7 separate regions of the Homo sapiens genome follow, and regions 1, 2, 3, 4, 5 and 7 are each linked to region 6. Evidence: promoter capture Hi-C in 16 types of primary human blood cells and fetal thymus (Javierre and others, 2016). All regions are on one chromosome and are shown on one strand. Each heading gives the region's core, a stretch centred on a gene start or on the middle of the fragment in contact. The rest is flanking DNA. Distances are from core to core; before and after follow the strand shown.

What was found. Contacts are between HindIII fragments. The CHiCAGO score rates a contact against its expected background, and 5 or more counts as called.
Region 1: a fragment that was not itself captured here is called in contact with the fragment with the promoter of GARS1 in region 6 in 4 of 17 cell types (naive B cells, monocytes, total B cells and 1 more); the score reaches 7.8 in naive B cells.
Region 2: a contact is called between a fragment that was not itself captured here and the fragment with the promoter of GARS1 in region 6, in 12 of 17 cell types (non-activated CD4 T cells, naive CD4 T cells, activated CD4 T cells and 9 more). The highest score is 18.4, in non-activated CD4 T cells.
Region 3: a fragment that was not itself captured here is called in contact with the fragment with the promoter of GARS1 in region 6 in 1 of 17 cell types (naive B cells); the score reaches 6.0 in naive B cells.
Region 4: a fragment that was not itself captured here is called in contact with the fragment with the promoter of GARS1 in region 6 in 6 of 17 cell types (total B cells, activated CD4 T cells, naive B cells and 3 more); the score reaches 8.9 in total B cells.
Region 5: a fragment that was not itself captured here is called in contact with the fragment with the promoter of GARS1 in region 6 in 5 of 17 cell types (fetal thymus, monocytes, neutrophils and 2 more); the score reaches 12.0 in fetal thymus.
Region 7: a fragment that was not itself captured here is called in contact with the fragment with the promoter of GARS1 in region 6 in 1 of 17 cell types (neutrophils); the score reaches 6.7 in neutrophils.

Annotation. Positions count from the first base shown.
Region 1 is chr7:29,950,103-29,953,752 of GRCh38, forward strand. All of the region lies in intron 3 of SCRN1 (secernin 1), which reads right to left. Among named protein-coding and RNA genes, the nearest start is that of FKBP14-AS1, 37 kb to the right of the region's middle. The HindIII fragment of the contact is 1,600 bases long and covers 1,594-3,193 here.
Region 2 is chr7:30,029,159-30,032,994 of GRCh38, forward strand. All of the region lies in intron 1 of PLEKHA8 (pleckstrin homology domain containing A8), which reads left to right. Among named protein-coding and RNA genes, the nearest start is that of PLEKHA8, 2.7 kb to the left of the region's middle. The HindIII fragment of the contact is 441 bases long and covers 1,723-2,163 here.
Region 3 is chr7:29,880,166-29,883,795 of GRCh38, forward strand. The region is part of intron 4 of WIPF3 (WAS/WASL interacting protein family member 3); the gene reads left to right. Among named protein-coding and RNA genes, the nearest start is that of WIPF3, 75 kb to the left of the region's middle. RefSeq lists an enhancer at 3,067-3,630. The HindIII fragment of the contact is 5,877 bases long and covers 1-3,630 here.
Region 4 is chr7:30,010,992-30,014,915 of GRCh38, forward strand. It overlaps FKBP14 (FKBP prolyl isomerase 14), which reads right to left. Exons shown (of 4, transcript NM_017946.4): 4 at 1-3,902. The coding sequence ends at 3,744. All of the region lies in intron 2 of FKBP14-AS1 (FKBP14 antisense RNA 1), which reads left to right. Among named protein-coding and RNA genes, the nearest start is that of FKBP14, 14 kb to the right of the region's middle. The HindIII fragment of the contact is 2,945 bases long and covers 1-2,826 here.
Region 5 is chr7:29,975,735-29,979,208 of GRCh38, forward strand. The region is part of intron 1 of SCRN1 (secernin 1); the gene reads right to left. Among named protein-coding and RNA genes, the nearest start is that of FKBP14-AS1, 11 kb to the right of the region's middle. The HindIII fragment of the contact is 921 bases long and covers 966-1,886 here.
Region 6 is chr7:30,592,811-30,596,642 of GRCh38, forward strand. GARS1 (glycyl-tRNA synthetase 1) reads left to right here and starts at 2,068. Exons shown (of 17, transcript NM_002047.4): 1 at 2,068-2,333. The coding sequence starts at 2,112. RefSeq lists enhancers at 1,523-2,136, 1,767-2,116, 2,137-2,750, 2,751-3,364 and a silencer at 3,260-3,359. The HindIII fragment of the contact is 4,590 bases long and covers 1-3,832 here.
Region 7 is chr7:29,923,163-29,926,894 of GRCh38, forward strand. It overlaps SCRN1 (secernin 1), which reads right to left. Exons shown (of 8, transcript NM_014766.5): 7 at 3,290-3,470; 8 at 1-953. The coding sequence ends at 795. Among named protein-coding and RNA genes, the nearest start is that of FKBP14-AS1, 64 kb to the right of the region's middle. The HindIII fragment of the contact is 1,401 bases long and covers 1,677-3,077 here.

The DNA of each region.
Region 1 (3,650 bases), core at 1,144-3,643, 640 kb before region 6:
TCTGGACCTGGGCATCCCTGCACTCTCAGGAGCCCAGGAAGCCCTTGCCCCTACAGGCTTGGAAGTGCCTGCTTCCTGCTCCCTGACCTCTTCCCGCTTCCCAGCACCTGCTCCAGTGCAGAGCAAAGTTGTGGCTGAGCCCAGGTGCTATTGCAACCTGGCTGGGTGTGCACATGCTTAGGGTGGTGCTGACACACCAGCCCCCTGCCGCCTCGGGCTTCTCCAGACTTTGGGCATCAATGAGCACAGGAGGGAGGCTGGGAGGGCTGAGGGCAGCTCAGTGTGGGCCTGCCAGTGCCCCCCAAGATGAAAAACCTGGACATCATGGATGGCACGTTGATGGCAGGAGGCAGACAGTTTCCTGGGCGGAAAGGAGCAGGTCCCCAGTGAAACCCCACCTTCAAGCCAGGAATGGCCGGAAGCCCGGAGGCTGGTCTGCTAGTTCCGGGTGGAGTACGCAGCCCAGAGTGAGAACTTATGGTGCTTTTTCCAGGCTTGCCCATGACCCGATCAGCACACACTTCCTCCCTTCTGAGCCCATAAAAACCCCAGACTCAGTCAGACTCACACAGACGTTAGGACTACCAGCTGCAGGAAGGAGCTACCAAGTTTGGGCCTCCTTGACTCGTTGGGATGACCTGCCTGCAGCAGAAGGGAGCTACCCACTACAGGTCTCCTCTCTGCTGAGAGCTGGATACTCGTCAGGATGACCTGCCTGCAGAATGGAGCTACCCACTTTGGGTCCCCTGAGAGCTGTTCTGTCACTCAATGAAGCTCCTCACCACCTTGCTCACTCTCCAGCTGTCCATGTATCTCACTCTTCCTGAACATGGGACAAGAGCTTGGGACCCGCCAAATGGTGGGACTGAAAGAGCTATAACACAAACAGTGCTGAAGCACACCCCCAGCCCCCACCATTTGCAAAATTGCAGGTGATGAAAAGGAGAGAAGAGCTGCAGCCCTTTGGGGAGTCCAGACCTAGGGGCTCCCTGAGCCAGGACTGTGACACTCTCTTTGGGGCTCTGCAGTTCCTGGCATTTCCAAGCTTCCAGGCACCACGTTTCTTGGTGACTGCAGTGGAAGCCATTTGCAGTACGCCTGGTCCAGCTGCAGCCTCGCACAGAGCTAGTGCCTGTGCCAACGCCTAGAGCTGCCCATCCCGCCACAGCTGGCACACCTGGCTGTGTGCAGTGGCTGGACCCCATGCTTGCTCACACACCCCTTTCCTCTCTGCGCCTGGCTTGTGCTTGGAAGGCATGGGATCCAGGCCAGTAGCATAAGCTGAGTACAGTGTGCAGGGCCAAGTGGTGGAACAAGCCCAGCAGCCCGACCAAAACTCAGGCAAAGGTGCCACCAGCCACAGAGGTTTCCGGCTGGAAAAGCAACACCGTAAGGATCGTGTGACACTGGGATTACAGGCATGAGCCACTGCACCTGGCCAAATTCCCACTTTTATGTTAGCTTCTATTGGCTACTCATTACTTGGAACCAACTTCATGAAACATGCAAAAATGTGTACGTGTCTTTATATGCCTCTTCCTCAGGAGAAAGGGACTAGTGGTCAGAGAACAGTGAATCAAAAATAACAGATGAAGCTTAGCTTTGAGATAAATGTCACTGAAAACGCATTATAAAAACAATATTGCCTAATGCTTACATTCCCACAAGCCTCTAGGAAACATACACAAATTATACCTTTATCTTAAAATCAGTGCCTATTACATTGCTACTGTCATTCCCTTATGTCTCTTTGAACTGAGGTTGGATTTCACATGCTGCTGGAAAGTGCAAAGTACCAGGATAAGTATAGGGGCAACTACTGTATTCATTGAATAATCAACCACAGTCTAGCAGGCCCTTGAAAGAGCATGTGAAATGGACATAGCCTGCTCTCATAGAAGCTGTCCAGGGAGGAACTGGCACTAGACACAGAGTGCAAGCAAGGCCAGAGAAAGTAGTGGTTCCTCACACAGCAATACCTAGGGAGGCACTGAGCCCCAAATTAAGAGAATGAAACCAACTGATAGAAAGTTTCCTGTGGAGCAGCGGTTCTCACCGTAACCGTGCATCAGCACCAGCTGGAGAACTTGTTAAAACAGGTTGCTGGCCCCTGGGTGTGAAATAGGGACCGACAATTTACATTTCTAGCAAGTTCCCAGGTGATGCTTGTTCACCAGCCATACTTTGAGAACCACTACTCTAGAACTTGCCACTCAAACTGTGGTTTTTTGACTTGTAGTATCAATATCATCTGGAGCTTCTTAAAAATTAATACTAGAATTAAATCATTAAAAAGGAAATCTGGGGTGGGATGTGGTGGTCCACGCCTGTAATCCCAGCACTCTGAGAGGCTGAGGCAGGCGGATCACTTGAGGTCAGAAGTTCGAGACCAGCCTGGTCAACATGGTGAAACCCCGTCCCTACTAAAAATACAAAAATTAGCTGGGTGTGGTGGCATACACCTGTAATCCCATCTACTCAGGAGGCTGAGGCAGGAGAATCGCTTGAACCTGGGAGGCGGAGGTTGCAATCAGCCGAGATCATACCACTGCACTCCTAGGAAACAGAGCAAGACTTGTCTAAAAAAAAAAAAGAGAGAGAGAGAGAGAATGCTGGGTAATGAGCATGAGTTACTTTTAGGATTTGGTTGGTATGAAATGACCCTTCAAAATCTGGCTATGCTTGGCTGAACTGATCATAGCTGCTTTAAAGATGAACTCAAAAGATCCACTTAAGGTGCAGATGCCTGTGACTCCATCCCCACCCTGAAGAACCTACCAGTGCTCTTCACACCCTTTTTATTACAATAGCTGGACATGGCTAGCCCAAGATGGAGTTAACGTTATATGGTGAAGGTTAAACTCTCACCCTGTCATCTACTCCTGACCTTGCTAATTATCACAATGCCAAGTCTGTGACAAACATATCTTCTGTGTCTACCTCCCTCAGCCTTGCAGCTTCAGGTCAAATGAACCTGCCCCTCAAAGCATTCCCAAATATGACCAGTCTGTGATAATCTGTGAACATCCCGCAGTGTTTGCTGAAGGCCACACCCTGGAATTCTGTGCCATTCACGTGGCATCAAATCTCAGATCACTTTGAGTTACCTCTCTCCTACTATCTTCTTATATTATTCTTAAAATTTCCATTGCTCAATTTTCTTCTTCCTGCAACCAGACTAAAATCCCTTTGAAGCTTTGAGCTGCTTCATGTACCCACAGAGTCTAGAACAAAGTAGATATTCAGTAAACTCCTGTTGCTTTATTGGTTGATAATCTTAAAAAGATATATCAGGTGCTCTGAAGAAAGGCAAAAAATCCTCTTCCACTGTCCCTTAGAAATCAACTGTTAAAATGGTAATTTTGCCTGTTCTATAAGTCTCATACTGCAAATACAGTAAAAAATACTGGAGAGCTGTCAAAACATAAGCTAAAAAAAAAAAAACTTCTTGTTATTCTATACATTTCATTTTGCTAATCAAGAGAAAACTAGCTATATATAACTGGTTTTTAAAAACTGGCTTTTTCTGCCTTTTCCCCAGCTCAGGGAAGCTGCTCCTCCTGAGTTTATAAGAATGAGGAACAGTAAGGAAAGGTAAGGAAGGCAGGAAGTCACTGTGCTACCAAAAGGGTGTCCCTCGCAGACCTCTC
Region 2 (3,836 bases), core at 693-3,192, 560 kb before region 6:
CCGTACTCCCTTGGCTCGCAGCTAGGTTGGAAGGTTTCAAAAGAATGCCAGCAGTAACCTGGAATTCCACAGCGGAAAGATCCTTTATCAAAGTCCTCAGTGCAAACACTTTCCCTTTGTCACCTTCAGAGTCATCTGCGTGCACACCAGGGTGTCAAGAGTCCCAACTCCACAGTTTCAAAGCTCTGCACAAGGTTTTTTATTTTCTCGTTGAGCATTTCCTTTTGTTTTACAGACTCAGAAATTACCGTTAAATGAATGCAAATATTTGCAACTTTCTTGCCGTGCCTTACAGATTGGCTTTAAAATAGTCCCCGCCCTTTTTTTCTAGTTTGTGGAGGTAAAAGCTTCATATCTTGAGAAGGTTGTAACTGTTCTACAGCTGTGAAAATTATTCAGAACGATCATTTTTGTCATGTGTGCAACTAGTATTTAATACAAGCCTACTATATGCTGGAAACTGTGCTAGCCACTTTTTTGGAAGTAAACTTTTTATCACAGAAAATGAATTAGGTCTTTAAAATTTTAAAGGCAGTGTGTTTGAAAGCAGAAATGTTCCCAGTATCCCTTAGAGTGGGTGAGAGACGTTTTCTTTCTTTTGTGGGATAGTTTTTAAAAGGTTGTAGTATGGTAATGCGCCGGGTGTTTTAAGAATGGGTGTGTGTGGGAGGATCAGTTGGCATACATAGTAACTTCGAGGAGGTCACACAGCACAGCCAAAGGTGCCCCTATTGGGCGTACCCAGAATCTCTTCCCTTTGCTTAGTGTAATTAGCAGTGAGTTCACCTGTTTATTTTTTTTCTGTAATCATTAATAGAGACTAAATGAGAAGAGGTTTTTCTTGTTTGCGTCAAGGACCTTCAGTGATGTCTGCAATTAGATTAGATGAGAATAACTCAAAGCTAGGCTTTGGTTTGGTGGATGACAGAGGCTGATCAACACTGCTAACCTAAGGGGAGGAGGCTCGACCTGGCAGTTTTCCTTCTGAGGTCTCTCTAAGCTCTCAGATGCATATACTTGAGTAAAATTTAGTTCCTGATCCTTCACTCCTTTCCATTACACACACTTTTTTTCATTCATCTTCAACATTCTTCTTTTTTTCCCATTCTTCCCCATCCCCAACTTTTTTTGTTGTTTTGTGGGGTTTTTTCCCCCTCTTTTCCTTCTCCTTTCTATATAGAAAGTTTAGTCTCTTGATACAGTAACTATTTCCTGGTAGTGAAATGCTTTTGCTGTTGTTGTTGCTGACTGTCCTTGTGTATCCTTCAATAAAGCAGAACTCTCTAGAAGGATCTTTTGGAATCTTTGTTATTTGATTCCTATCTGTTCTGTTGGAAAAGAGTCTACTTTTTTCTTCCCAAAGTAAGAGAAGTTAATGCTGTGAGTGGTGCTAGGGTGGAAACCCTGAAGAAGAGGGCACTGGAGCCATTGCCAGAGACAGCTGTCTCTACGTGATGCTGCTTGTTCCCTTAGCCCACGTGCCCCGTCCTTGTAGGCATACTGTTCATAGAAGCCCATCACACCACTGGGTATTTTCCAGATATACATAGAATGATGGTTCGGCATATTCTCTCCTTTTAGGAGATAAATTTACTTGGGAAAGAAGTGGTAATAGCCTAGGAGGATCACATGCATTCTTGTTTCCTCCACCCTCCACTTTTCTACTTGTTCTTCGGAAGTGAGCATGTTGTGTTAGTGACAAGTTACTTTTTCTTTTTCTGAAGCTTGTTTTAAAAAGTAACTTTTTTTTTCTTGTAGGTTTGCACATACTAACTTTAAAATACATACAATCCCAATCCAAGTTTTTGTTCATTCTGAATTTTTCTCCAAAGGTAGTACGTAACCCATGCCTCTGTATGGTTTGTGTATTTGTCATGCTGACAGCTTGATATGGGATGCCTTGTGTCAAATTTGAGTGAAGTTAGGAAATCAGTTTATCACTTGGTCTTTTGAATCCTTAGGGGATGTTGTTAATTTCATTTACCATCTACTGTGCTAGGCACAGGGGAAGCAATGTTGAACAAAGCCCATGCCCTTCTTGAGCCTACAGTCTGGTGGGGGAAGAAAGATATTTATTGGTTAAGTGGTTAGAACCATGTTTCATTGTGTGTGATTGATTGGGGAGGAGGGAGGGCAGAGAGGCTAGTACGGGTTGTTAGAGAAAGCTTCTTTGAGGAAAAATTTAAGCAGAGTCTGAAGGATAAATCAAGCTGTTAATAGTTCGCTGGAGAGGCCAAGGCAGAGGTGTAGTTAGAGGAAATAAAGAAGAACTTTTCAGGCACAGGGAATGCCAGTGTCAAGGCCCCAAAGCAGAATGGAGACGTGCGAGTTTGAGGAAAGGAAAGAGGACCCATCTGGCTGAGAGCTGAGGAGAGTGAGGCTCCAACAAAGATGCAGGGGTGTGCGGGAGGCTAGATATTTCAGGGCCTCATAGGCTGGTTTAAACACTGTGATGTGATTGTGTGTGTGCATGTGGGTACATGCATGCATGCGTCTGTGAGAGAGAAATGATGAGATTGTTTAAAAGCTTACTCTGGCTTTAGCGTAGCGTAGAACATTTTCTGGTTACATCTTTATATCTCTCCTGCTGCATTTATTGTACTTCACTAAATACTATGTATTATTATTTTGTGAGCTTCTTTTGCCTCTTGAATTTTAAATCGATAGGTATTAATTACTGAAAGTTAGAATTCATCAAGCCCTGATAATAGCGTCTGAGGTTTATGTGAGTGTATTTCTAGAAGAGAAAAGAAGTCTCTTCCCTTAAATGCTAAGCGTATTCAGGTACTCTATCCTCCTTCAATGAAAAATACAAAAAAAAAAAAGTTTACATGTATTTTCGTTTACAGTCTGGTTTCATCCTGCCTTTTGGACATTCCGGGATTTAGTGCCAGTACCTTTCTTTAGATGTTAGAAGATTAAACTTGGGATGAAGAGAGTAAATTAAAAACATGTTACAGATTCCCACATTGTGTGAGACATACTTCTAAAGAAGCACTGTGTTTGTTATTTGTGTCTTTCAAGACCTAAAATTTAGTCAAGGAGTATTATACATGTAGGGCTACACATTAATACTCTAGAACGCTGGTTCAGGAGTCAGAGAGACCTGAAGCCTGGCAAACAGCCCTATTACTGCCAACTGCAGGGTCACTTTAGCATCCTGAGCCTTAGTATCTTCCTCCATTTAAAATAATGGGATTTACTAGTTTATAATTGTAAGAACTGTTAAAAATTTATTAGTACTTACAATGTGCCAAGCACTTTTCTAAACATTTTACATGGATTAACTCAGTCTTTGCAGCAATTTCAAAAAACAGTTGCCTTTATTATGCCCATTTTCCAGATGAAGACACTGAGATATAGAGACGTGGGTTTGCTGAAGGTCACACAGCCACTTATTAAGTGGCTTCAGAGTCAGTGCTCCATTAGACAATACTTTTAAAGGTCCTTCTTGCTTGATCATTATGTAATTCTAGCTGATTCATAATGTACCTATATTTAAAGTATGTTTGACCTAGAATAGCAGACTATTTCGGGGGTGGGAAGTGGGGAGGAATTCAGAAGTGAAGAAAGCTTTGACTGCCCAATGTTGTGCATATGTTTTGCCACGAGGAAATTTTCTAACCTGTGCTTTCTACTTTGTAGTTTTAGGTCCTTTTCCTGCCCACTCAGCTGATAGGAGGGCTGCTGTTGTGAACTCCAGCCAGCCGAAGGCTGCTTGTGCCTCTCCAGCAGGTTAAAGCTCAAGCACATTGCATTACTGCATTCTGAAAATAACAAAAGCCTGCATCATACTGGCCAGATGGTTTTCATTAAGGATGTGCTATAATTTTGTT
Region 3 (3,630 bases), core at 1,099-3,598, 710 kb before region 6:
TATTCTTGTTCTCTTTAACCAGCAAGCTGAATAAACTCCAGGAATACCATTAATACAGGAGGAAATACAAAGGCCCAAACCTTCCTCGTACCAGATCTTCCATCATGCGACTTTTCTAACTTTTTCAGTGGCTTCTGTGACTGTTTAATGTTATGGGATGATTATGCTGCCTCACTCACCAATAAAAGTCCAGCAAAGAAAAAGACTCTAGGATATTTTGAGATCCAACTTGAACCTTCTCAGGGGCCATGTTCATTTCCTCATTTTTGCTGAGGGGTTAGCAGGAAAGGTAGAGTACAAGGTCTTCCTCAATAAAGACAGTGGATATTCTTCAGTGTCCTCTTCTTTTTCAAAATTCCCGAGTGCTATCAAACAAATATCCTTTGGAATAGAAGGCTTCCACCAGTTTCTCTTCATAGAAGATGGGAGAAATGGGCCCCAGTCAGGTTTTCATAGGAAGCAGCCAAAAATAGCCAGCAGGAGTCCTACTGGTCTGCTTGTCACCAGTGGGACATAAGTGTCAGATGTTTGAGCCGCTGTAATGGGGAAGACAAGAATTTATCTCTTTAGAGATGGAGGTCCATAAGGAAGTGACTAATGATGCCTGTTCCAGGATGGAAACTCAAGGAGAAAGCCACCAGATAAACACATGGACTGGGTACCATGTCAGGGCAAGGCAGGCCGTGGCTCCCTGCTCCCAGCACTTTCCCAACAGCCCCCTTCTCATCAGAGGAAGGGACTTGAGCCTTTGCTCCCTCTCTGATCTTCTGGCCTACCTTTCTTGGTGGTTCATGCCATCCCCTCCACTCACACTATCCTCCTTGCTGCTCTCACACACCAGCATGTTGCTGCCACTGGGCGCTTGCACCGACTCTCCCTTGGCCTGAAAGGCTCATCCGCAGGTGTCCACGTGGCTCAGTCTCTCCCTTCCTGCAGGTCTCTGCTCAGGTGGCAGCTGATCAAAGTGTCCGTGAGGTCTTCACTTATTATCCCATATAAAGGTTTAGTCCTATCCTTTCATTCCATATCTCCTTTTCCTCAATTTACTTTTCTTGTATTACTCGGCACCACCTGACATATCATGTATTCACTGGTTTATCTGTTTATTGTCTGTCTGATCCATCTGAAGCTAAGCTCCGTGAAGGCAGGGACTATGTTTTGTTCATTGCCATAGAAATGCCTGGCGCATGGCAGGTGCTCAGTAAATACTTGCTGAATTGCATGTGTGAATGGTAGTGTGGTGGCTGACATTCATTAGGGACCATAGCACAGTGTCATGGGCTCATGGTACTTTTAGGGACCCATGAAAATATTTAAATTTCTTTTAAAATCAGAAGAAAACATATGACCTTTTAGGATCAAAGAATGTATTTGTCTTTGTACCAATGCAGTCATGAATATAAATATTTTTTTAATAGAGAAGAGGCCCACAAAGGCAAAAGTGCCTAGGGACCCTGGAGTCATAATGCAACCTTGGCCTAGAGCTCTAAGGGAGTGAGAATTACAATAAGATATGATGAGTAAACATTATTTCTGGGTTGAATAGAATATGTAATGAGACTTCCAAGGTCTTCTGGAGAACATTCAGATTTGAGGAAGAAGAAATATTTCATCTTTTGCTAAACCTGCATGTTCTAAAAGCTGAATCCTTTCCTATGGGCACAGCATCCCTGATGCCCTCAATCTGGCCTTTCCCGCCACCTCCTGGCCTCCTTTGTGTTTTCTCTGGATTTCTAGGGCTCGGGTTTCCATTGTGAAGGACAGCCTCCTCCCTTACTTCCTTCAACTCCCTCGGAGCTCTCTGTCGGCCCAGGCCTGCCTCCTCCACTTGCCTGCACTTACACCATCAGCCCCTTTCTCCTCTGCAGTCTCACCTTCCTCCCTGAGGGGCATGCCCGCCCTCGCTTCTGCTGCGCATGTTAGGATAAAAATGAGTTTGCCCACATTTCTCATTTGGTTGGTGGCTTCATCAACACAGGATCCCCTACTTTTAACTGACTCACTTTAAGGGTTTTTGAATCTCTGAGACATGGTGTCCTCAGTTACTTAAAAGGTTTGGATAGGCTATTTAAGGGTAGGCTTTGCTCTGTTTTGTAAACTTTCATTATCCCTTTCAATTTCATTCAGCCACTGGGCATGTAGGTAGGCTCTGCCTTGTTTAGGCAGCTGCCTAGGTTCTCCTCGTCATCTTTTTGTATTATATGGAAAAAGGTTTGAGAACTTCTAGGCAGGAATCCCTGAGCTGACACCTGCTAATACCATCCTCACCCTACCTTAAGAACAGCCATTCCATAATGTGGTTGGAATATTATGGTCTAGGTGACTGTCACATTATAGCCAGAGGGGCTCATATTTGGAAAGCCAGATACCAAGGTCTTGCCTACTTAGCTTCACCTGAGTCACCTCTGCTAGGCCGTGCTTTGATTGGCCTGGCTTTTGACATCCAGTACTTTAAGTGTATGGCTTAGCCCCTGATTGGGGTAAACACACAGGAGACTCAAGTACTGCAAATCTCAGAACCCCCAACAGATGCTGGGATTTCTAATCTGAAATGAAAGCTGCAGGTCCCATGCTGCAGCACCCAGGAAGTAGTGGGTGTGAGAAAACATCATTTTTCAAGTGTTGTCCACATGTTGTCATGGTGATTATAAAATATAGGGGAAAACACCCCCCAGAATTCTTATAAAAAGAGCACTAAATCTGGAAGAAATATTTTAATCTGCCTCCTGAGTAGACAGTGATACTCCAAGGACATCTCTAAGCAGTAATTGCAGAACTTCGAGGCAGTAAACAACGAGAGGAACTTTTTCTTATTAGAGAGAGGCAGAGCGAAAAAAGGGTGAGAACTGGCAAAAAGGTGCAAGGCTGTGCGGAGTATAGAGGCCCCTCCTGGGGACGTGCTCCACCTGAGTCTTCCATGAAAACCAAACGCAAATGCTTATCAAGAGCCAATGGTTGTTGTTGAATTTAAAAGAGGAATTGAATTTCAAGCTGGGGCAGATGCAATGAAGGATCTATAGGATGAGAAAGCCAAAACCCTTGGGAATTAGCATAAGTCTTTGGGAAAGGAGGTTTTGAACTTCCAGAGGTCATAGAACTGTGAGGTTCAAGGTCATTGGACCTGGGTTGTCAAGGGCAAATGTCTCCCTCCAGTCTTACCTTATGTATTCAGGGAATCATGAATTTTCTGCTCTCAACACAGAAACAAAGAAAGTCAAATTTCACAAAATGCTGGGAGTGAAGAAAACCTCCCTAGCCAGGAGTGCTGGTTGGTACACCTGAGGGTCCAAATTAGAGCATAAGGGCTGATGGACCTAGCGGGTGTCAGTGAATGAGTTCGTGAGTGTGGCCTTGATTAGGAAGGGCAAAAGACACCCGGGCAGTCCTGGCCCTGGCTGGGATACTAGAGGCCCAAGGCAGATGACAGCACAGGTGGCATGGATAGGAGGGCTGGAGGCCTGACCTGGGCTTGTCATTAATGCTGGCAAGGACTTTGGATCTGGTCCAGTTGGTCCTTCTGGGTGACAGCTGTGGCACCTGAGGCCTCTCAGTGGACACGTGCAGAAAAAGCGGTCTACAGTGCAGCTCACTGCGGGCAGGCTTGAGTGTCCTGAGTGCCGCCTACCTGCG
Region 4 (3,924 bases), core at 104-2,603, 580 kb before region 6:
AATTTACAGTAAGCTAAGGTTAGTTTTTTATTATTTCTATAAAAATTATAGAATTTTTTTTTTTGAGACAGAGTCTTGCTCCTCTGTCACCCAGACTAGAGTGCAGTGGTTCGATCTTGGCTCACTGCAACCTCCACCTCCTGGATTCAAGCAATTCTCCTGCCTCAGCCTCTCAATTAGCTGGGACTACACGCATGTGCCACCACACCTGGCTAATTATCGTATTTTTAGTAGAGATGGGGTTTAGCCATGTTGGCCCGGCTGGTCCCAAACTCATGACCTCGAGTGATCCACCCACCTTGGCCTCCCATAATGCTGGGATTATAGGCATAAGGCACCATGCCCAACCAGAAGAAAAACATTTTTTATAAATTTTAGTGTCACCTAAGTGTACGGTGTTTATAAAGTCTACAGTAGTGTACAGTAATGTCCTAGGCCTTTACATTCACTCACCACTGACTCATCCAGAGCAACTTCCAGTTCTGTAAGCTCCGTTAGTAAGTGCCCTATACAGGTATACCATATATATATATATACACACACCATATATATATATACTATATATATATATACCATATATATGGTATATATATATATATAGTATATATATATATATATATTTTTTTTTTTAGATGGGGAGTCACTCTGTCACCCAGGCTGGAGTGCAGTGGTATGATCATGGCTCACTGCAGCCTTGACCTTGCCAGGCTCAGGTGATCCTCCAACCTCAGCTTTTGTACTTTTAGCAGAGACGGGGTTTCGCCATGTTGCCCAGGCTGGTCTTGAGCTTCTGGGCTCAAGCAATCCACCTGCTGAGGCAGCCTCCCAAAGTGCTAGGATTACAGGCGTGAACCACTGCACCTGACCAGATTTTTTACAAAATCTTTTATACCATATTGTTATTGTTGTAGTATCTTTTCTGTGTTTAGATGTTTGAATAAACAGACACTTGCCATTGTGTTACAATTGCCTACATGATTCAGAACAGCAACATGCTGTAGCCTAGGAGCAATAGGCTATATACATGTCCTACATGTGTAGCAGGCTACACTATCTAGGTTTGTGTAAGTACACTCTATGATGTTCCCACAACGATGAAATAACCTAATTAGACATTTCTCAGAGTGCATCTCCATCATTAAGTGAGGTATGACTGTACATGTGAAGTCACAGTTCATGTCTGATTATTCCCACTAATAGAAGAGTACAAAGGTACAGTGAAACCAAAAAAAAGAGCAGATAACTTAAAAACCATAACTTGTGCATATGTTTTCATTTTATACTTGTGTCCAAATGTTTAGATGAGAACTGATACAAATTCACAGGTTTTTAAAAATGCTGCCTGAATAATCAAAACTCTTTTTACTTTTCTTGCCCTACTATAGATAGCATCAGTAATGTTTATACAGAGTAGCACCATCGGACAAACTACTTTCCCTTCTCCCATCATAGAGTATAAGGCTGTCTGTATTATGGCTTAAAACATTAGCAATGACTTAATAGTTTTCAACATACAGCTGATTTTGTTGGAGAAAGGTGTTACAGTATAGTCTTGTTAAGAACTTTATGTTTTACTGAGGAAAATGTCAACATATAATCAGTGAAAGTGGTCTACATATGATGTAATAATTGTTCATAATTCTTTTTAAACAACAAATGGGGGTAAATATGAATGAAAGAAGTAAAACACATCTGGAACCTCGCGTTGTTCAGGGTTTTTGAGGCAATTCAGAGCTAACTGCAAGATTATGCTATGAAACTGAAGCCATTTCTATATCATAGTGAGAATTCTAATGTACCAGAAACAGGCAGAAAGCCATCTTCAGAGAATGAAGACTCAAAGATAAACAACGGCACAGCAAACTGAAGAGAGAATTAGACCCCAGGGAAATTTTCACTTTTCATTAGTAGAGGGCAGTAGAAGACACTGAACTTGGGGACTGAATACTGGTTCTGCAGGTTAGTGCTGACCCTGGGCATAACAGTCAATCTTTTTGAATGACAATTTCCTCGTCTATAAATTAGGTACAGTGAGATCCACCAGCTTGTTTTATGACTCAGAGCCATGAAAAGCGAAGATAATAATGCACTTAATATCATTTTGTACACTATAAAGGGCTACTCTTAGAAAATGAAGATTTGATAACTTTAAAAAAAAGAATTAAAGATAAAAGCCAATTTAAAATAAAATTATATATATTTTTTTCTTTTTTAAAATCCAGGATAGGTATTTATTCAATAGTAGCTGCTGTAGGTCTGCTTCTTTTTTTTTTTTTGAGATGGAGTCTTGCTCTGTCACCCAGGCTGGAGTGCAGTGGCACAATCTTGGCTCACTGCAACCTCCGCCTCCCGGGTTCAAGCAAATCTCCTGTCTCAGCCTCCCGAGTAGCTGGGACTACAGGTGTGCACCACCACGCCTGGCTAATTTTTGTATTTTTAGTAGAGACAAGGTTTCACCATGTTGGCCAGGCTGGTCTTGAACTCCTGATCTCAAGTGATCCACCCTCCTTGGCCCCCAAAGTGCTGGGATTACAGGCATGAGCCACCACACCCAGCTAACTTCAGTTTTTGATGAGACAGAAATGGGAAAATGTAGACTGGTTTACTACTTTATCTTATGATACAATGTTATTGTAGTATAATATACTATAGACTACCCATTAAAGAACCAGGAAGGATATTCCGCTAGCCTTAAGAAGTAAATATTGAATATAAATATAACTTTCTACCTCATCTATAACATATTGATACATTTTATTACAAAGAAACTCACACATAAATGATTTGTCCTATTTATCATAATAGGCCACCAATCACTAGGAGCCAAGCTTCATCAGCTTAAGTCCTAGGTAGCATGTCTCAATGCATACATATTTATATGTTATTAACCGTGTTTCTTTTCTTTTTTTCGAGACAGAGTGTCCAGGCTGGAGGTGATCTCGGCTTACCGCAACCTCCGCCTCCGGGTTCAAGTGATTCTGCCGCCTCAGCCTTCCTGGGTAGCTGGGATTACAGGCACGCATCACCACGCCCGGCTACTTTTGTATTTTTAGTAGAGATAGGGTTTCTCCGTGTTGGTCAGGCTGGTCTCGAACTCCCAACCTCAGGTGATCCGCCCGCCTCAGCCTCCCAAAGTGCTGGGATTACAGGCATGAGCCACCATGCCTGGCTATTAACCTTGTTTCTAACTTCAGCATTGCACATCTCCTTAGTAAAGCAGTAGCCATTAACAAGTCAGGTCCAACAACCATTTTCCTCTGGTCCTCAAGCAGAGACTCAGAGCCAGTTACACATAAACTATTTCATTATAACATGAAAATAGCAAGCCTTGGGCTATTGCAAAAGGCTTTTCAAATGTTGACCTCTAACTTGGAGAAAATAGAGGGAAGCAGAAATATAGGGTGCTAATTTGTGCTATAACCTGGTCTCATGTCGTGGTATATTCCCAGTTGCAACATTTTAAATTTATAAGTGAGAAAGTAAAACAAAGCTTCATATCTGTGAAAGTGAAAAATTGTCCAGAAGTCTTCTATTCAAAGACCAATTAGCTTTTTCTTCCCAATAACTTATCAGAAAGAAATGGGTACTTAGAAACCTAAGGGGTTCTTTAAATAGGAGTCAGAAAAAATATATAAAAATAAAAAACAAAGCAAGAAAGAACATTGTATAAAAATAAAATGTTCTTTAAAGATGACTGCCCTCTCTTGAAAGATGAGTGCTATATTAAAAGGGTAGATGTATCTCTATAACTCATCGTGTTTATATGTAAATTCTCTGGCAGATATAAACCCATCTTTGTCTTCATCTTCTTTATCAAAAATATCCTCCACCAAAGCATCATGATGACTTTCATTCACCACCGCACCATGTTTTTCAAACTCCTTCTTTAAATATGCTTTAACCTACAAAATAACAGATCCCATT
Region 5 (3,474 bases), core at 176-2,675, 620 kb before region 6:
TTGTGGCAAATACCCATTAGGATTCTTGCCAGGTTAGCAATACACTGACAGTTCTAATTAATGAAACACTCTAATTTAACTCCCATAGATGGGTAAGCTGACAAGCATTTCCTAAGAAGTCCTTGTTAAGAGTATTTTAAAGTGCATTTATCTGTAGTTTGTACTATACATTTATGTTCTCTGTATTTTCCAACTGATTAGTTTAATGTTGCATGCTATTGGAGGAGAGGAGACATTAAAGACTGGAGTTTAGGATAAGGATGGAAGTTGTAAATGTAAAGGTATCATGTAGCTGGTACATTTTTGTGGTAGAGAAAAGAAGTCAGATTATTCACGTTGGCAGAGTATAAAAAAATATCTGCTACTTTTTCTCCTTGTCCCCCCTCCAATCAGCTCTCAGTGCGAGCCACCAGTTTTCCTTCAGACCAACGCTGTCCAGGAGCATTTTCTGAGATGATAGAAATAGTCTCTATCTGCACCATCCAATACAGTAGCCACCAGCCGGATGGGCTATCTGGTACTTGAAATGTGGCTAGTTCAACGAAGGAACCAAATTTTTAATTAATTTCAAGTTAAACAGCCAATATTAGGCTAAGTGATATAAGCCAGTCACGAAAAAACTTACATAAGGCATCTAGAATAGTAAAACTCATAGAAATAGAAAGTAGAATGGTGGTTGCCAAGGGCTGGGCAGAAGGGAATAAGTTGTTTACAATCTGCGTACAGATTTCAGTTTTGCAAGATGAAAAGGCTCTGGAGATCAGTTGTGCAACAATATGGATGTCCTTAACACTTCTGAACTCTACAGTTAAAAATGGTTAGGATGGTAAATTTTATGCTATGTGCGTTTCACCACAATTAGAAGTAAAAATTAGAAAATTAAAGAGCCACATGTGGCCAGAGGCTACCATATTAGACCATCCAGCTTTAGCTACTGTGCCATTGGCTATGATAAAGCATCCCTAAGCTTAGTTTCTAACCACCACTGTCCTCCTTATCAAACTTCTTTCAGGATTCATGACTTCCTCTTGGGAACAAGATAGTAGTGCTTCCCTGGAGTTTACTGCAAAGGAGCTGCATGTACCAGCATTCATCCTCTGACTGGTGGCAGGAGGCCCAAGTTCAGGCTTGAGGGACTGGAGTACTGTACTCTCGTAACTAGGAGACCACATACAGAATGTGTAGCTGAGGAGGGAGGAAGCTGTGTGGGAGAAAAGGTCTTTGTCCTCAAGTTCAGTGAGTAGTTATTGAAGGCGTGAATGCTCTGAGCCAAGGCAAGGTTTTTTTCTGCATGACTGCCAGACTGCCCTGCACCTTTATCTCAATGATGCACACAGTATCCCTCATCAGTTACCTTACCCATTGAAAAGAAAGCCTTGACTGCCTAAGAGAAAGAAAATAACTGTCTATATAAGCTATCGGTTTATTAAGCGTCTTGCAAGTACCGATGACCAACTGCCTTTACTTACGTAAAGAATGAAACCCAAATGTCCAGCTAGACTTCCCTATTCTCCACACTACCAGCTTTATTGAGCAGACTGAATACATTTAAATTCAATGACTGTGAATTACCACCTTCCAGAAAAGCAAAGGAGAAATTATTATACTCTTCATTAATAAATTCATTTTTAAATGATTGCCATTCCTGCTTAACTGAAAACAGGACAAATGATACTCATTTACAAATTGATTTTTTCTGTTTTAAACCTTCTATTGAAATAGGAATAAATGAAGTGTTTGGGAAAGGAATTAGCTAATTAAAAATTGGGATGTAAATGCCAGCTGATGAAAGTCATCTATATAAATTAGCTCAGACTCATCAAGCTCTGCCCAAAAGAAAGATTTTACTAAGTGTTTCATTGAAAGCTCATGAGAGTAGAGCATAAAGCTTTGGGACTCCACAGCCAGTGAATTCCAGCTCCTAATATTCAATGCCTTGAATGAGGAACCAAGTAATGGAAGAATAACTGTATGGGCTATTAAGTGAGTAAGCAGGCTTTGAAGCCCACCTGGGTTCAAATCTCAGCCCTGTCACTTCTCCAAGCTTTTATAAAAAAGGGATAATGATAGGTAGTTCATTCTTCCCAGGGTTGCAGTGAGATTTAAATGAGATAATGCTTATACCTACTTACAAAGTGCTCAGAATACCATTTGGGACACAGCAAGGACTCAATTATTGTGAGAACAAGAGAAGGATACGTGATGAAAGCGGTCCCTTTGTCAAAGCCTATCTGTTCAGACTTCAGAAACTTTCCTTGAAGTGTCTAAATGCTCTTTCACCTTTTGAAGATTTGCTTCATTGTCACTTCATGTCTTTTAAGAGCTGCTTAACAGTCTCTTTCTCCAATTTCAAAGGCAATATCTACTTCTGACAGTTAACTCTGTGGTCTTCAGTGCCAGTCTGCAGCTGACATACTTCCCAGCAGCGTGGTGTGGAACAGGGGTGACAGACTGCAGATTTGGTTGGTTTGGCCCAGAGTGCTGCATTAGATTGTGTTTTTAGAAATCTGAATTAGCAGCTAATATTTTAAGATCCAGAGATTTCCTATGGACACTCAAATATTTGGCTTCTGCTAAAAACTCAAAGATCTGGCAACACCAAATCCACATTCCCGCATGATGGCAAGACTGGAGTTGGGTAGTGGCTCCTCTCAACAGGGCCTGTATTTCCTATTGTCCCCTCCACTCTCTGACACGGAGGCCAATGAAAGCGCCACCTCTCCTCACCTTTGTGTAATTGCACTCACTGATACCGCCTGCCTAGCCCTGCAGCCCCATGTGTATAGGTACAAGAGAATGACACACTTTAGAGACACCAGGCCCTAGTAGCCATCCTGACTTCTCTAACTCTGAGCCAGAGTTTCCTCATATACAAATGGAATTAACCCCCCATACACAACATCGCATGGTGTTGTGAATGTAACGAAAATATTTTTTAAAAAAAGAAAAGAAAGAGTTGCATGAAAGTAATCTGTTATCCAATTAATTGCAGCTAAAAAGTATGGCCCTGCAATAAGGCGGAGACTCTGGGAGAACCCCATAGCTCAGCCATGGCAAATGAACTAATTTTACCTTTTGGCCACATCTGATTTTGCCTCATTTGCAAGATACAGTCATAATGAGAAATATGAATTAAAGCAAAATGTCTAATTTATTGTCGTGATTCATGTGGCAGATTAGTAACTAGGGAAATATAGAGTTCAACGGAATGTTGTGCTTCAAAACCTACATTTATTCATAGGTAACTAATCATTTTACAAAAGTATTCTTCAAGTCACTTCAGAATTTATCTATAATGCAAAATATTTTTATATGATGTTTCCCAATTTTTTTATGTCAAAAATTTTCCGCCGGGTGTGGTGGCTGACGCCTGTAATCCCAGCACTTTGGGAGGCTGAGGCGGGCGGGTCACAAGGTCAGGAGTTCGAGACCAGCCTGACCAACATGGTGAAACCCTGTCTCTACTAAAAATAC
Region 6 (3,832 bases), core at 818-3,317:
CACATGTGAAAATTCTGAATAACTATAGAACCTATCTCACTAAATTGGTGAATAAATTCCATGAGATAAATTAGAACTAACTGGTACATAGTGAGTGCTCAACAAACATAAACTATTATCATTATTGTGCAGACACAGTTTTCAAAAGAAAACTGTTTGGGAAATTCTTCCAAGGGCCATGAAGAGCCTACTGAAGTGTCCTGAGAAGAGAAGGGACACAGTCAGATTTGCCTTTCAGAAATAATGACTGGGCCGAGTGCAGTGGCTCACACCTGTAATCCCAGCACTTTGGAAGGCTGAGGCGGGCGGATCACGAGGTCAGGAGTTCGAGACCAGCATGACCAACATGGTGAAACCTCGTCTCTACTAAAAATAAAAAAATTAGCTGGGTGTGGTGGCGCACGCCTGTAATCCCAGCTACTCAGGAGGCTGAGGCAGGAGAATCGCCTGAACCCGGGAGGCGGAGGTTGCAGTGAGCCAAGATCACGCCACTGCACTCCAGCCTGGGTGAAAGAGCGAGACTCCGTCTGGAAAAAAAAAGAAAAAGAAAAAAGAAAGAAAGAATGACTGAAGCAGCAGTGGGGAGGATGAATTGGTCGGGGAGGAGGGAAGAACGGATTTGGAGTCCTTTCAGGACTGTCCTAACATGAAAATGGATGAGACATTATTGATCTAAGGAATTTTTTAGAAATAAAATAGTTTTATTCAAAGGATATAGAATTTCAACATTTTAATAAAAATCTAAATAAAAATAAAAGTAAAACTTAAAATGATTTTTCACATTTAAAGATATTAAAATAAATTCAAAATTGCCTAGTAAAATAAAAGCCAAATAAATTATAATTAATATCAAATCTTGAAATAAAAGTGTTTAAAAATATAATTGTTCAATATTGCAGAAGGTTCTTAAGCAACCCACCCTGCTCATGTTGAATTGTAAGTACTTCTCCAGAACTGCACACTGGAACGGGAAGAGAAATAACATGGACTTTCACACCATTAGGAAAGGAGACTTCATTATACTGAGCCCGTCTACTCCTGCACACTCCTGGGGTGGGATTGTGGGTCACAGGGAGACGTACGTGCATACTGCCGAAGAGCTCCCAAGTGGCTGGCTGCACCAGTTAACACTCCCCTGAGCAGTGTAGGGGAGTCTCAGAGGGTCACTTGGCATTTTCCATCATTTTCATTTTAGCCATTTTTGCAGGTGTGCGCAATGCTGTTTTTATAACCAACACATCATTTTTCTCTTCCTTTCCTGGAGGGGGAACCCAGCTTTTCTAGGCCCTCCACCCTTTGGGCAGGAGGAACTGGGTGTGTGGGGCGGGGGGAAGCCATCTCTGGGTGGTTGGTCAGCTGGGGCCTAACCACAGGAGGCAGATAGACTGAGGCTATGCCAAGCAGAAAGACTTATCAGGCACCTCTTGCCTTTCCTCATCTCTGCCGGTTCAAATCCTGCTCGCCCCGCAAGGGCAGATTGGAATTTACCTTCTCCAGAAAGCCTGGGGTGACTCTATCCCCTCACTCCTCCTCCCCCGTTCGCCAGCTTTTGTCTTGACATCGGCGGACCAAGAATGTGTGACTCTGGGCAAATCATTAACCTCTCTGGGCCTATTTCCTTATCTGGGGAACATCTGCACTTGAGCAACAGAAGTCTAAGATCCCTATCTGATTTGATGTTTTGCGACCCTTTTAAGGCGCAGGGCGCGAAAGAACAGAAACAGAAGTGTCCGTTCAAGTAGGTCGGCCGGGGTGTCACTCGTATAAAAACCTATGCTTTGAAGGTTCTCGTGTGTCTCGGCCTGCAGGTCTCGCTCAGAGCTGTGTCCCTGAACATCCACCCTGCTGGGGTGGCTTGACGCACTTCTGTGCAAATCTGTTCGCTCGCAACCCTACCTACCTCTCTCCCGAACCGGAGAAAACCTTCGGCGGGGTCCTTCCGGGTTTTGTGTCGAATCTGCGGCGGCGACCCGGCGCCGCGTCACGCGGTGGTGAATGTGCGGCAGCACGCGCGCCGCGTCGTTTACGCGGCGATTTCATCATGCTCCGAGCCGGGCGGCGCGCGCCGCTTCCGTCGCCACCCTCTCTGGACAGCCCAGGGCCGCAGGCTCATGCCCTCTCCGCGTCCAGTGCTGCTTAGAGGTGCTCGCGCCGCTCTGCTGCTGCTGCTGCCGCCCCGGCTCTTAGCCCGACCCTCGCTCCTGCTCCGCCGGTCCCTCAGCGCGGCCTCCTGCCCCCCGATCTCCTTGCCCGCCGCCGCCTCCCGGAGCAGCATGGACGGCGCGGGGGCTGAGGAGGTGCTGGCACCTCTGAGGCTAGCAGTGCGCCAGCAGGTACCGGTGTTTTGCGCTCTCCGCTAAGCCTCCGGCTCTCCTCCCAGGGCCTTCTTCTGGTCATCCTTCCCTCCTCCCCGGGGAACTGTCCTCCTCTTCGGTTACCCCTTTCTTTCCCTTCATCCTCTGGCGTCTTCTTCGCCTCCCCCACTTTGGTCCCAAGTCCCCCGTGCGTCAGCCACCTCCTCTCCCGCGGACCTCCGTCCTCCTCTCTTTTTGGATGACTCCCTGGAACCCCTCCGACTTCCTGCGTCCCTCTCCGGCTCCGTTCTCCCTTCCCCATTCTGTCACAGCCCGCGTCTCCTCTATTTCCAGTGGGGCTGGGATCTGTGACCCTTTGGTTGTCCTCGCCTCCTAACTGAATAACCTTAACTTCAGTTTTCCAGGCTCTGCTGTACTCTTTGTGCACCCTGGGTGGAAAGCCTCCTAATTCTTTCAGTGGTCAATGATGAGCCGAAAAACTGCCGGTTCTTTCGTCTTACGGCCAGGCCCTTTAATCTTTAGGATGCTTTGATAGTGTTTCCCCCTTAACATCTTCCTTCATTCAGTGCTTAGTTTAGCGGAATGATTGGCTGAGAAAATAGAATTGAAATGTGGATGTGGGGAGGTGTCGAACTTTTCTATTAATGCTGTGAACTCATCATCCTTTGCTCTTGTCATCTTTTCTGGCTTCTGAAAAGGCCGTTTGGAACCAGTGAGCCCTCAGATCGTAAACCTGGGAAACTAAGTGTTGCGGAGTGAAGTCAGCCATCCTTAGTATGGAATATTTTGACATTTGATTTTCCCGAAGGTGAGGGAAGGTTTCATGGGCTGAAGGACTTGGTGATTTAATATAGACCTCCTTTTCCTAGGGCACTGCCATAGAGTTTAGAATTTAGAGATATCAAGGAAAAGATTATTTCAGATGATTCCCATATGCAATTAGGGAGAGCCAGAGCTTGCAGTAGGACCCCGGAGATCATGACTTAGTAGTAAACACCAAACGGGTTTCTCCTGCATGGGCGCCTGATGCAATAATTTGCCTTAGCTACAGAGGGTGGAACCCTATCTCGGAAATAATTCATTGGGGCATAGCTGCCGCAAATTCAGCCACTTTGCCATCTGTCCTCTTCGCTGGTTTGAGCCTGACCGATTTTAATAAATAGCCTTTCATTTTGAAATATCACCACGGGCTTAACTTTTTTCTTCATGATTGGTGTCAGAACACCGATTGCATATTCTGTCTCCCTCCACCCACCTTCCACTCCACAAATAAAATTAGGTGTGGTTCCTTTGTCTTTTCTTAACTTGCCATTTTAAAAAATATCCTTCCCTTTAGAAGGAAGCATACAACTAATTTGGAGAAAAAAAAAAACCACCACACCCAAACCCCTCCCTCTGCCACGTTAGCCTGGAACTGCAGTGAAAATCATCCATCGGTAGTTAAGACAGGATCTAGTTAACTAAAGTAAACTTTGATCGCGGCAGCTTTCCGATGCTACTAACTACTGTCTTGTGTA
Region 7 (3,732 bases), core at 1,127-3,626, 670 kb before region 6:
TGGGGAGAGCTGCCTCCTGGGACATCCATGCAGTGATTCAGAAGGCCACCAGCATGGCTATGTCTGAATCTCGGAAGTGAATAGGTTCCAGCTAACAAATTATCAGCTCTCCTGTAAGTGGAAGCAGCTCTGCAGTCCACCACACATAAGCACAGCGCATGGAAAATGGGAAGACAGCTTCTTCAGGAGCCCAGGATGTAGGAAGGAGCCAGGACTGGAGAGGGGTCCCTTTCTTCCTTCCAATTGGTTCTGCCCCCCAGAAGACACCTGTAGAGACACTGTGCACTACAGGCATGCACTCACGGGAGGCCACGGAGGGTCCCCTTGACAACACACACAAGAGCCCTGTGTGTGTGCACAAATGCCTCTTGTTAACCTGAAAGAAACCGCTACTGAGGGAAAGACTAAGACTTCAAAAGAATTTGCTTTTCCCGCCAACTCGGCACTGTGAAGCCTGCCTTTCAAGGCTTGATGAACTCTAGTCCTCTTGTAAAAGGCTAATGTGTCCATTGCCACTGAAATACAATAATAGCAGCTTAAAATCCACAATTAGTCACACAACCGAACAACAGGCAACGGGATACATGTTACACTGCACAGGAAGGAGACCTACATTGCAGAAGGGGACGCTGTGAGATTCAAGGTGGAACACAAGGTAACAGTTTGATCTGGCTTCAGAAAAGGAGGCCACATATTAACTTTCTCATTTTACTCAAACAGGAGAGTGGTTTGTTTTGCTGGTAATTTAGTAAGGTGGGAAGTCTTAAATAAGAAGGGGAAAGGGAACGCTTACTTCACTTAAAGAACTTAATCTCCGTGTCAACACAGTCATAGAAAAGGTCCCCCACTTCCGCAGGGTCCAGTGGCTCGGAGCTGGTCAGGATTTCTTCCATGGCTTCCAGGCCTTGCTTCTCCAGCTCCAGCATGGTGCTCCTCAGCTTGCGACCTTGCTCCTGAGGAAGGACACGACTGCTTTAGGTGTCAGCAAAATAGCAGGGGACATTGCAGCGGACACTGAAACCCTCTAGGGGGCCAGCTGGCTTCCTGCTCAAGGTCCTGTCCTCCCCACACTCCGTTTCACACACGACTGCCGCAGGGATTGTTCTAGAATGCCAGTATGATTATGTCACTGCCCGGCTTAGAACACCTGCACAGCTTTCTGCTGCCTTCAGGACAAAGCCCAGACCCCAGAGTGACACTGAGGGAAGGCCCTTCTGACATCCAAGACCACTTCCCCTGCATCTCCCCACTCCTCAGCTGGACTGAATTCACTGTAGCCCTCCAGCCTCTGCTGCTGTCTCGCCCCTGCACAGGTGGCCCTGCCCTCTGGAGGGCCATCCCCTTTCTCAGCGCTTGGTCGACGTGCACCCATCTTCAGCTTCCTTGCAAAGCCTTTCCTCTTCCCCGCACAGTGCCACACCGTTCCCCCTGCCATGGGCGCTGTCTCCCACCTTGTGCTGGCTTGCCTCTGCAGCTGTGGCCCCTTGGATGGGAACTGGGCTCATTTCTATCCTCCAGTGACTGGGAGGGCACTCTCAAAAAATGTTCATTGAATGAAAAAAAAAATGGATCAATGAATAAACAGGTGCCATGTCTCTCCCCTGTTCACTCTTTTTCTGAGATGGTGAGTTCACTTCTTCCATGGGACTCACTCATTTATGGCAGATGACAGTGAAAGCTTTCATTTGCCCCATGAGTCCCAGAACTGAGAAGCTGCTCTCACCACCCGCCCACCACTGCTTCATGCAGCATCATGTGACTCCACCTGAGAGTCATTTGTAAATTTCAAAACCCACCAGCCTCAGCAGCCTCATCTTGAACACACAGCCCTTTCTACCTCTTCATTCTAATGAACCAAATACCCAAAACACCATACACCACACAGCGACAGTTTTCATCTACTTGGGGCTTATGGTCATCCACCAAGAACATAAGCACTATCAGGAACTAATGTGGACAGCCCTGGAGAAAACACAGTTGAATGCAGTGGCAGCATGCATGCTTCCGATTATCTGCCAGCCTTTTTAGGCTGGCAGGGAGGAGAGATGTAAAATAACTGTGCGACCTTTACGTGTCAAATGGTCACTTCTATGGAAGAGAAGGGCAAGCTCTCAGAAAAGTGAGACAGCCCTTCTCAGAGATGCTTTCTGAATTCATCTGGATTTATTGCTTGGATTTTTCTCTTGATATCCTTTTTCTATAGTCCACCATGTCAAATGCAAGAGGCTCACACAGTCCACAGCACCAATTTACACAAAAGGTCCCCCTTTTGGGCCCTTCAGGCCAGTTTGGACCTATTAAAAGTTGTTACATAAATAGTTGGGGAAAACTGATGAGTGTCTAACAAGCACGTTCCTTCTTCCTCTCTTCAGCAAAATATAGGCTTGAATTTATATAAAGTCCATCGGGGTGGCTGCTGTGGACACACTGGGTGCTGTGGAACGTGCTTTGGGTGGTTTTCTTGTTTGAATTGATGACTTATCACTTTATTAACCAAAGGTGTGGGACTGGGGAGAGCTGCACTTTGAAGGATTACGACTTCTTTTTTAAAACTAGGAATATGAGTCTGGGCGCGGTGGCTCCTGCTTGTAATCCCAGCACTTTGGGAGGCAGAAGCAGGTGGATTGCTTGAGCTCAGGAGTTCAAGACCAGCCTGGCCAACAGGGTGAAACCCCGTCTCTACTAAAAATACAAAAAAAAAAAAAAAAAACCCTAGGAATATGAGAATATTTTCTAAAACTATGTTTGTACTATGGTAAAACATATGTATTATAACATAAGATTGACCATTTAAAAACTTTAAAATGTATAGTTCAGTGCATTAAGCTCATTCACAATGTTGTGCAACCAGCACCACCAGCCAACTCCAGAACTTTTTTGAAACAACATATGATTGTATCTTTAATAAAATGTTGCCAGCAAATAACAACTTTTTACCCCCAAAAGTACATAAGGAATTTTACACAATATATAACAGTTATCCCTAACGTACTGCATATTCCTATTATTCCTACGTAAACAGTAAATGTAAGTAAGATACTCAGCCTGCTGAATTCCAAAATAACATGAGAAGCAGAAGCTTTGTCTTATTTGGTTTCAAGAGCCTGGGCAGGAAAATGGACACCAGCCTTCTAGGAAAGGCCCCAGGAACCTGGTCTCTGGGAGAAGCCCGGTCACACTGGATGGGTGGGGGTAGGGTCTAGCTTGACATCTGCTTCCCTGCCTCCTTCCTCGCTGACCTCGCCCGCCCGCCTCCGCCTCCGCCTCTGTGGCCCTCATGCAAGCTCACCTGGTCACTTTCGATGATGGCACGTGCCCACTCGTGGGCTTTGTACAGCTCATGCCGGCGGTCTGGTTTCTCCTGGAACCGAGGCTCCTTTTTGGCAGGGTCGTCATCCCCAAAACAGGGAGACTGTGTTTTGGGGACAAGTTTTACGTCATCAACAAAGATGAAAGGCTTGAATATGGACCTGGAGAGGAAGGAGAGGCACTTCAGCCAGGCAGAGGCTGGGACCCGGGAACACCCAGAGACTGTCCTTTTATTCAGCAAACATTTCCCAAGCCAACTTATGGTGGGTGGTGGGTGTGGGTGACGGGTGGGTGGGTGAGTGCCAAGAGAGACATAACTGCATGTTTTAGTCGCTATTTTAGCAAAACTGCAGCCATTTACAAGCTGCAAATTCCTCTACTTACAGCAAAGAGACATCAAAACAGACTTCCTTTGTTCTGAAC